Linked DNA regions of Homo sapiens: region 2 is linked to region 1. Evidence: promoter capture Hi-C in 16 types of primary human blood cells and fetal thymus (Javierre and others, 2016). All regions are on one chromosome and are shown on one strand. Each heading gives the region's core, a stretch centred on a gene start or on the middle of the fragment in contact. The rest is flanking DNA. Distances are from core to core; before and after follow the strand shown. Region 1 holds the start of TCF23 (transcription factor 23). Region 2 overlaps MAPRE3 (microtubule associated protein RP/EB family member 3).

Region 1 (5,442 bases), core at 1,778-4,277:
ATGCACCACTGCACCTGGCTAATACAATTATCATTTGTGTAAATTTAAAATTTATTCATACAACAATGCACAGGCTTCAGTAACACATACTACATTAGTTATCTATAGCTGCTTCCAAATTACCCCCAAACTTAAGCAGCAATAAACATTTATTATCTTCTATGGCTTCTATAAGTCAGGAATTCTACGGGCAAGAGCAATTTAGCTGGGTGATCTTGGCTCAGGGTCTCTCATGGGTTGCACTCAAACCGACAGCCAGGGCTGCAGTCATCTGGAGGTCCAACTGGAACTGGAGGATCCATTTCTGAGGTGGCTCACTCCCACGGTTGGCAAGTCGTGGTGGCTGTCAGTGAGAGGCCTCAGTTCCTCACAACATGGGCCTCTCCACAGGGCTGCTTGGATATCCTCAAGATAGCAGCTGGCTTCCCCCAGAGTGAGCGATCCAAGAGGGAGCAAGGGGGTAACTGCACTGTTTTTATTTTTTATTTTTTTTTGAGACAGTCTCACTTTGTCGCCCAGGCAGGAGTGCAGTGGCACGATCTCGGCCTACTGCAACCTCTACCTCCTGGGTTCAAGCGACTCCTGCCTCAACCTCCCGAGTATCTGGGACTATAGGCATGCATCACCATACCTGGATAATTTTTGGGGTTTTTTTTGTTGTTGTTTGTTTTTTAAGATGGAGTTTCGCTCTTCTGCCCAGTCTGGAGTGAAGTGGCGTGATCTCAGCTCATTGCAACCTCCGCCCCCGGGTTCAAGCAATTCTTCTGCCTCAGCCTCCCATGTAACTGGGATTATAGGCACCTGCCACCACACCTGGCTAATTTTTGTATTTTTAGTTGAGACAGGGTTTCGCCATGTTGGCCAGGCTAGTTTCGAACTCCTGACCTCAGGTGATCCGCCCACCTCGGCCTCCCAAAGAGCTGGGATTACAGGCGTGAGCCACCGCGCCCGGCCTGATGCACATCTTTTCCATCTCCTTTCTATATGTTCACATAAGCACATAAAACTTTACATTTCTATTTTTTATTTTTTGGTGTATTTTTTTACGTGGCTGGGGTCTTACTATATATATTGATCTACAACTAGCTTTTTTCACAACTGTGTGTTTTGAAGAGTTTTTCATGTCATTTAACAAAGGGCTGTCATTATTTTTATTACTGTACATTATTTCATAGTATGGAGATGCCAAAATTTATTTAACGACTTCCCTACTGATGGACATGCAGGTTGTTTCTACTAACCTACCTACCTTTCTTTCTTTCTTTCTTTGCTTCCTTCCTTCCTTCCTTCCTTCCTTCTTTTTTCAAGACCGTGTCTTGCTCTGTCGCCCAGGCTGGAGTGCAGTGGCACGATCTTGGCTCACTACAAGCTCCACCTCCCAGGTTCACGCCATTGTCCTGCCTCAGCCCCCTGAGTAGCTGGGACCACAGGCACCCACCACCACGCCCGGCTAATTTTTTTGTATTTTTAGTAGAGATGGGGTTTCACCCATCTTAGCCAGGATGGTCTCAGTCTCCTGACCTCGTGATCTGCCCATCTCAGCCTCCCAAAGTGCTGGGATTACAGGTGTGAGCCACTGCACCCGGCCCTTCCTTCCTTCCTTTCCTTTCCTTTTTTTTTTTTTTTTTTTTTTTTTTTTGAGATGGAGTCTCGCTCTGTCGCCCAGGCTGGAGCCCAGGCAATCTCGGCTCACTGCAACCTCTGCCTCCCGGGTTCAAGCAATTCTCCTGCCTCAGCCTCCCGCGTAGCTGGGACTACAGGCACGTGGCACCACACCCAGCTAAATTTTTGTATTTTTAGTAGAGACGGGGTTTCACCAAGTTGGCCAGGATGGTCTCCGTCTCTTGACCTCATGATCTACCTGCCTCTGCCTCCCAAAGTGCTGGGATTACAGGCGTGAGCCACCGCGCCCGGCCTCTTTTTCCCTTTCTCTGTGGTGGGCTGCATATCTTTCTCACTGTACATCCACCTTTTTACTTTCTCCTTACTTATTTGATCTCCCCTGAGGTTCGAGAATGGGGGACAAGGGACATCAGGCTGGATTCTGCTACAGGCAGAGGTCCCTGGAAGACAGCAGGGGCTGCTGTGGCAGATTCGCGATTCCTTCAGCCCGCCTTCTCCTAACTAGCTCTTGGAGGATGTGATGCAACTCAGGAACACCATGGTCCTTGCCTTCAGAGACCTCATGTCTAGCATGGGGACAGACGCGTGAGTAACCCATGGGAGGCAGGCTAGCATCAGGTGAGGGGTAGCCTTCAAAGTCCAACTGACGGCTTGGATTTTCATCCCACCCCACCACTTAACGGATGTTTGACATTGGGCAAGTTATTTCACCTCCCAGTATACCAGTTCCCACACATCTAAACTGAGTCTCTTTTTTTCTTAAAAGGTTGCTCTGAGAAATAAATAAGATGCTTAGCACAGTGCCTGGCACACAGTAATCTATGAATATCGAACTTCTGGGAAAGTAGCCAGGCTGTGATTGTACCAATCAAACAGGGACCCATGGGCTCTGGGCCTGCGGGATTTGAAGTCTTCACGAATGAAAGGCGGAGACCTGAAGGATGGGCAGTACCTCCTGGCAGAGCTGGAGGAAGGTATTCTGGGGCGTGGAAAGGTAAATTTAAACACAGAGTGGAAATCGGAGGCATATTTGGGGCATGGCAAATCGCGCTCTGTGGCTGGAAGGTCACGTTCATTGGCAAGGGGAGGAAAGGCCTTTCAGGGATGTATGCAGGCAGCCTTCTGGCACAGACGAAGGAGGTTCAAGTCCTCTCCATGGACGTGAGCTCCAAAGCGGAAGTCACAGGTCCACCATAGGACCACTGTTGAGGTTAGGCATGGCCGGAAAGGAGCTCCCTTCCCCACTATCCTCCTGCCTTCTTCAGCATGGGCCTCCTCCCAAGGCTTGGCCACTCCCAGCATCCAGCACCCCCACCTCTCAGCTGGGTTAGGAGGCAGGCGGAGGCTTTTCGCGGGGGCTGTGCCTGGTGGGCGGTTTTCCCAGAGCAGGGAGCAAACAGGACTGAGTTGGCGCCAGCTTCCTCGGATGTAGATATTGCTGGCTGGATGACCAGCCACAGCCAGCTAGCTTGAGTCCAAGGCCTCCTCAGGCACTGTGTTTCTGCTCTGTGGGCTGCAGCCCCAGTGGGGTGGCATGTCACAGAGGAAGGCCAGAGGGCCACCAGCCATGCCAGGGGTGGGGCATAGCCAGACTCAGGCCAAAGCACGGTTGCTGCCAGGCGCTGACAGGAAGAGGAGCCGCCTCAGCAGGACAAGGCAGGACCCGTGGGAAGAAAGAAGCTGGAGCAACCAGAGATGGAGCAGAGCTACCCCTGGCCCTCGAGGGACCAGGGCTGGGGGCCTGGCTCTTGGCAGGGTAAGGAAATCCTGCACCTGCAGAGGGGTCCAGGGGAGGAAGGGGTTGGAAGGTGGGGAGATGTCACCTCTGATGGTACAGCCTCACTCAGTATTACCATTCCTGCCCAAGAGAGGGGACACTGGCCCCTTAGACTCCAAGGCATCATGCTTTGGGTAGTTGGGATAGATCAGAGCTGGTCTTAACCAGAGTGCAGCTCAGAGAGCTGCACTAACTCACTTCTCTTGAGGAAACTGAGGCCGGGAAGAGGGATGTGAATTTCCCAAGGTCACTGAGCAGCAGCCAGTGGTAGGACTGGGACTTCAGCCTGTGTGCTTTGACCCCTGGTTCTGTGTCTTTCCTCTTTCCCACAGCAGCCTCGTCGTCTCAGGACCTGGCTAGGTCAAGGGTCCGCCCTCCCAAACAGGGTGTAGCTCTGAACTCCCCCTGGCCCCAGCACACCCTGATAAGCAGGATTCAGATTGGGCATGGGACAGGACAAAGGCTCTGAGGAGGCATGAGTGGAGTAGTAGAGAGAACACAGGACTCTGGGTTCTGAGCCAAGCTCTGCCATCCTGCAGCCATCTGACCCCTGGCCAGGCCTTCCCCCAACTTCCTCAGCTGTGAAACGCGGCAGGGCTGCAGATGACGTAGGTGGGCAGAGGCCCTCTGGTGCCTACTGCTAGACACCCTTCTACTCTGGTGGGAGACCTTGTGCTCAAACGCTCTCAGAAGTCAGGGCAGTTGGGAGTCCAGGTCACACACACTCACTGGGGCCCTCTGTGCAGAGCGAGGCCAGTCCTGAGAATGCCGCGCGGGAGCGGAGCCGGGTCAGGACGCTGCGCCAGGCCTTCTTGGCCTTGCAGGCTGCTCTGCCTGCCGTGCCGCCCGACACCAAGCTCTCCAAGTTGGACGTGCTGGTGCTCGCCGCCAGCTACATAGCCCACCTCACCCGCACACTCGGCCACGAGTTGCCTGGCCCTGCCTGGCCGCCCTTCCTGCGTGGACTCCGCTACTTGCACCCTCTCAAGGTAAGTCACAAGCCCTGGGACTTGAGAGGCGGATCTTAATGCCCAGGGCCTTGGAGAAAGGGATTGGAATGAGGGGGGACATTGGACTTGGGCCCCCTGCCCTGTGCAGAACTGACGTCGGAGCCAATTTCTCCTGCTGTCTCAGAGGGAGAGGAGCCAAGGCTGACCCTTGGGGCTGCGCTGACCCTGGGTTTCTCATGGGAGTGTGGCTGGAAATGGCTTCATGGGAATGCACCTCCTTGAAGAGGAGGGAAAGACTCTGGGGTTCTTAGAGTCACAGGGAAAAATGTAGCAGGTTCCAAGTCTGGGGCCTGGGAAAGGAAATTATACCAAGGAGAGTCCTAGATCCCCATGCAGCTTCAGCCCATTGTGCCTGCCTTGGTGCTTTCTAGGCTTCTGTTGCAAGAGAGGTCTGTCCTCCAGGAGAACAACGGTCTGAGGGACCGTCATTCTAGAAGCAACCAAGCTGGGGGAGTTAGCAGGCAGCAGTACAGGGAAGGCGCGCACCACTTGCCAGACTGCAATCTAGCTTTTCTCAACCTCAGTTTTATTACACGTAAAATAGAAGCTAACATGAGCCTTACTTCTCTTCCAGAGTACAAAATGGAAAGTCTAATGAACATTAATCATCTTTGCAATAACAGCTAACAGTTGAGTGCTAAAGATAGGCCAGGAGCTGGGTTAAGTACGTTAGTGTATTTTTGTCTTTTAATCCATGCAAAAACCAAATGAGGATTACTTTACAGATGAGGAAACTGAAGCTTAGGGAGGTTATGAGGCTGAAAGCGGTTTGAACTCAGGGGTGTCTGACTTCAGACCCTAAGCTCATAGCCACTAAACAGTCTCCAGGGACAGCGCCATAAGGAGCTGGTTGAAGAGTGCACTGTGTTAAAAAGGAAGGGTCATCTTTGCCCTCTGAGGATAACATTGCAGTGGTATCAACTTTTTTATTTTATTATTTATTTATATATGTACTATTATTTTTTTGAGACAGAGTTTCACTCTGTCGCCCAGGCTGGAGTGCAGTGGCGCAATCTTGGCTCACTGCAACCT
Region 2 (5,442 bases), core at 1,516-4,015, 170 kb before region 1:
TGGCTGCTTCCCGGTCAGCCCAGGGTACTTAACTGACCACCTACCCCATCAACTCTTCCTAGTCTTTTCACTCCCCTCTTGAGAATAGTCCCCTCCATCTGTTGACCAGCTAAAATAATCATAATTATTCTAATAAGCTAATTTTCAGCTATTGATGAAAATGGCATCTGACTATATGACCTTCATGAAAAATTCCTGCCTCTTAGTTAATGTCAAGAGGGCTTGAAGTTTAAAGGGACCCAAGCTGAAATGCTGGCACACTGTGTAGCTAAGTTCTAGGTCAGACCTGGCTGGTACAGCACATCTTTCACATAATGACTGATTAACTGCTTCTGGTAGGAATTACTGGTAAACTCTGATAAAATCCTTAAGGATTGTTCAGCTTTTAATTTTGTCGTAAGTTGGCCAGCTGTATTTTCTAGCCAGATGTCATGTTTATTATAGAAAGATGACACACCTATCATTTGGACATGTGCTTTGGGTTGCTTACCCAGGAGTTAGGATGGGTTATGCTGAGTAATTCACATTCCATCACCCAGTCTTCCCTTTGGCCAAGAGTACAATTTCGTGTGACAGTTAGCCAAGTTTCGTGAAGCATGCTGTGGCCACGGATGGTTTTTCTTGTGCACAGAGTTGACTGGCCAATACTAGCATAAGCCTAGATCTTGCACTCACTAGCACCATGCCCTACCAGCTTTGCTAAACTGACCAGATGTTGTTAGTCAACTTTTTAGCATAACGTCAGTGTTTTAGGCTCTGGATGCTTCATTTGCCTCAAGTAAATAAGGACTTGTCCTATCTAAAATGCTTTAACTCCATGCAAAATGATTTTTTCCCTGAAACTATTTCCTAGATATAGGAGATACATACCACTTGTGTGATACATTTAAAATAACTGAGCAAGAAGCATGGCTTCAAATCTGCCTTGTAGCTTGACTATATATAAAAAAGCTTAAAAGGATGTATATCCTTAGACCAGAAAGTGCCATTCTAGCAATATTTAGAAAATCAGAGGTGTGTACAGAAATAATTGTAAAAGATTTATTAATGCAACATTACTAGTAATATCAAACATTGAAAACAACCAAAAGTGCCAGCAACTGAGGATTGGTCAGGCTCGCCCAAATAAAATACTGCATGGCATTAAAAACATTTGGAGAAGAATATTAATACCAGAACTTTTAATATCAGTGAAAAAAGCAGGATGAAAAATAGTATGCCAAGGAAAAAACCATATTTATAAAGAAAAACATGAAAAAGATACTAGAAGAGCATGTGCCAAGTCATAAGTGATTGAGTAATGGGATTAAAAACGAATGGCTTTCCTTAGTGCTTGTTGGTGTTTTCTAAGCTTTTCTGCATTAAGCAACTATAACTTAATTATGACATTTTAAAACCAGTGACTTCTAGATTCCATGTAGTAGAGCAATCTTTAGAGTCTTCTTTGCCTCTTCCTTTTACTGTTTACATGTATCGGAAGGTTTTAGTAAAACCTTGTATACCACAGGGCTCTGTTTTGGGTGGCCTTCTTTTCCCAGGTGTCTTTTCAGATTCTCTGTATTCCCAGTTCTCCAGTGTTCCAGGGGCCTTTTTTGAGGGTTTTGCTCATTTTTTGGTGTGGATGTGCACCTGTCTGAATTGTCTGTTTCAAAAGACTCTGCCCAGGCCCACTACAGTTGCCTTCCTCCCTTTGCCCTTTGTCACCTTCCGTTCAGCCATGAGCTCAGAGGCCCTTTTTCCTTCCAGGGATAGAGAGGGTTGGGTGCCCACCTGTGGCCACCCGATGGGCAGAGCCCTATGTAGACATAGGCTAGGCCACTCCCCCTGTGCCACACCAGGTCCATGGAGCTGCTGACTGTGTTGGTAGGGCCTGGCCGGGCAGCTGTCCTCTGGCCTCATCTTTCCCATCCACACACACACACTGTACATTGCCTAGATGGCCCAGTCCAGTGGACTGATACCTGCCTTCAACCAGTGGTGGAGTCTGCCCAGCTCTGAGCACTGAGAAAGGGGCACTTTGGCCTCCTCCTGAGGATCCGGGACTTCGAGTTGAAGAACATATGGCCTGTCACATAGCTCGAACTGTGCTGTGATAAATGTTTGCTAAGCAGGATCTGCCTCTTCCTCCAAATGGTCTGGCTACCCAAATACTTGTCCTAGATGGGGTGGAGGCCTTCCCTGCTGCTGGAATTATTAGTGAGCAAGTCTTTGGGTATGGCTGGCTGGAGAGACTCCACCACTCGGAGAGAGTGATTGTGGGAGAAACAGTCATCTTATCTTGAGGGCATTGTGGTCCTGGTCACCTTGTAATTTATATGGTGTTCTCTGACTGGTAAGAAATGAAATCTTAACTGCTTCTGAGTCAGCAAGATCATAGTTGGGTCTAAGGTGTGTGTTGCCATGTGAAAGGGGCAGGTCTTAGACCACTAGATGAAATTAGATACCTTTCCCATGTGAGGAGTGTTTCACGCAGGCTTATCTCCAGTGGCATAATGTGTGCTGTGTAGCCAGGCCTTTCCGCAGCACCAGACTCTTGGCAGCCAGCCACCCTCCACCCCCACCCGCTTCCCTGAAGGTTATTGACACTTACCTGGGACTCTGATTTGGTCCTTGATTTGTTCTGATTTTAGATGCTTAGAGCTCATAGCTGAAAGCTCTCAGTTTAGGCATCCTATTAACACTCTTAAGTGACAGGATCACTGCTAAGTACAGAGATGTGTTATGCTGGCCCCAAAATAGCAAGGTACAGTGTCTTGAGACAACTTGATAAGACTTCTATTACCCCAAAAGTATAGTTCCCAGGTTTACAGATTATTCATATAAATTTGCATATCATCTTCACAAGACATGTAAGCATGCTCTCAGCACGTATTCTTCATCAAGCCCTTTCTCTGTTTTGTATTGTTAGTCACTATGGGATATAAAGGAAATGAGACTCAACCCTTGTCCATGAGGAGGCTGTAATGTGTGTGGAAGACAAGATGGATATATGGAATGATTAGTGCATATGACAATATTGCATGTCAGAAACACATCTTTGGTGCCTTATTCTATAAGACACAGTGTCAGCCCTTAAGGAATTCAGCTAATATTCTGGCAAAAGAGTTGGACACAAAACTGTATGTCACTGTAACATGAGGGGATGGAACCTTATCAGCTATGGGAAAGGGTGCTTTGGTAAGCCAGAAGGAAGAGTCACCCTGAGCCTGTGAGAACCAGAAAGACTTCAGAGATGAAGACACACTGGAGCTGGGTGTGCAGGTTGATGTGGAGACTCATCAGAGGACAGCTGAGGAAGAGAGGCAAAAGAAATGAAAAGAACAGTGCATTGGGTGTCACTGGTACTACAGAGTCTAAATTCCAAAAGGATGCTGAGAGGAAAATAATCATTGTGAACTGGAGTAATCAGAAAAGACTTCAGTCTAGGTGCAATGGCTCACGCCTGTCATACCAACACTTTGGGAGGCCAAGGGGGGAGGATCACTTGAGGCCAGGAGTTCAAGACCAGCCTCAGCAACATAGCGAGACCCCATCTACAAAAATTGTTTTTAAATTAGCCGGGCATGGTGGCATATACCTATAGTCCCAGCTACTAGGGAAGCCAAGGCAGGAGGATGGCTTGAGCCCAGGAGTTTGAGGCTGCAGTGAACTATGATCATGCCATTGCACTCCAGCCTGGGTGGCAGAGTAAGGGCCAATCTCTATTAAAAAAAGACAAGACTTCACAAAGGAAGCAGAACCTGACCTTGTCTCAAGGATGAGCAGGCTGTGAGTTGACAGAACACCAGAGAGGGCTTTTCAGGAGGCAAGGTACAGCATCAGCAAAGGAATGGCCGTGGGAAGGGGTGTGGTGGGGTTTGTAGGCAGGGCAGCCTTACCAGACTGAGGATGTGTGCTGGTTTTGAGTTTGGAGAATATTGGTGACATTAACCAGAAATTAGGAAGTTTGAAGAGACAGTTTGGAAAGGAGTTGCTTTTTAGACACAGAGAGCTAAAAACAACGTGACTGTGGGTTGCAGGACATCCAAGTTGAGTGATCTCATAGAACCGGAAGCTGAGGGTCAGGTTGTGGATGGAGCTGTAGAGTGGGAGTCAGCAGCACAGAGGAGGGCTGGATTCCCTCAAAGGAATCTCTCCAGAGGTCTTGCATGCAGAGTACAAAGACCAGAGCCCCAAGTAATAAGCTTTGAGAACTGTCCATAGTTAGGAAAAAAGGAACAAGATGGTGGGAAATTAGGATGATTCAGCAGCAAGGGAAGAGAAAATGTCTGGAAGAGAGTTTCAGTGCTGCTGATTTAACTAGATTTAAGGATTTAACTAGAAGGCAGTCATGATGATTGCTTAGGGTATCCATTCAGTAAAACACTGGAGTGGTTTAAGGGGAAAATTGACAGAGAAAAATAGAAGCAATGGCTGGTCACCAGAGAATGGCAGCAGGGAGGGAAAGAAAGTAGTAACCAGAAGAAGCAATCGAATCAAATATTTTATTTTTGTAAAATAATTCTATTCTTTATCAGCAAACATATAAAATTGTAGTATGTGGTTCTTAAAATATATTTTGTGTATTAAAATGTGCTTCATCTGCAGACTTCTCTATATTGACATAATCCATATATTTGTAACTTCACATATTTCATTCCTTTGGTGGTATCCCATCATATTGATACCAGTATGCTTAACCTCAATCTGTTGTTGGGCAGTTGGAGTATTTTGCAAGTGTAAATATCTCTGATTTGAACATTACTGTACAAGTGACATTTTTTTCTTTTGTGGATTATTTATTCATGGTATATTCCATAAAGTGAATTACAGAGGTGCAAAGGGTACGATTTTTTAAATAAGCTTTTTATACAACGTTCTTCATGGTGATCTAACCAACTTTCAATTAGAGTAAAAGTTTGGTATTGACGAAGAATCATTTTTTATAAGAAGGAGGTCTGAGCATGTTTAATGGCAGAAGGGAAAAGGAGTTATCCAAAGAAAATAGTACACAGACAAGAGAGAAATAAAGCAAAAAGGAATGATCTTTAGGATCCCAGGGAAAGGTTCCTTTGAAGAGAAGAGGGCATGGCTCTTTCTACCCCTGACTTTTAGGGTGAAGTCCAGGATAGATTACTGGGGTTCCTCCTAAGAAAAGACCTTTCTTTCTTTAGTAAAATAGAGCCAAGGCCACTTGCTGAGGTGGGGGAGGGAGAGGGTTGGTGGGGAATTGAGTTCTTGAAGGTCTGAATTACCCACAGTGAGAAATAAGTCTGGGCATATGAGAGATGAATAAAGGTCTTATTGTGAATGCTGCATTGGACCTATGAATTCATAATGGGCTGAGTCTTTAAAGTCCTCTGGCCAGAGAAGCAGCAGTGAGTGGGGACGGGCACCAGGAATGGGTGTTGCTTGGCATGTTCAGGGCAAGGTTTCTGAGGAGTCAAAACTTAAGATGCAGTG

Evidence for each region. The method cuts DNA at HindIII sites, captures the fragments that hold promoters and counts their contacts. A CHiCAGO score of 5 or more calls a contact.
Region 2: a contact is called between a fragment that was not itself captured here and the fragment with the promoter of TCF23 in region 1, in 1 of 17 cell types (naive B cells). The highest score is 5.2, in naive B cells.

The regions. Positions count from the first base shown.
Region 1 is chr2:27,145,977-27,151,418 of GRCh38, forward strand. TCF23 (transcription factor 23) reads left to right here and starts at 3,028. Exons shown (of 3, transcript NM_175769.3): 1 at 3,028-3,379; 2 at 4,147-4,389. The coding sequence starts at 3,158. The HindIII fragment of the contact is 12,568 bases long and covers 1-5,148 here.
Region 2 is chr2:26,975,884-26,981,325 of GRCh38, forward strand. The region is part of intron 1 of MAPRE3 (microtubule associated protein RP/EB family member 3); the gene reads left to right. Among named protein-coding and RNA genes, the nearest start is that of MAPRE3, 8.0 kb to the left of the region's middle. The HindIII fragment of the contact is 2,833 bases long and covers 1,350-4,182 here.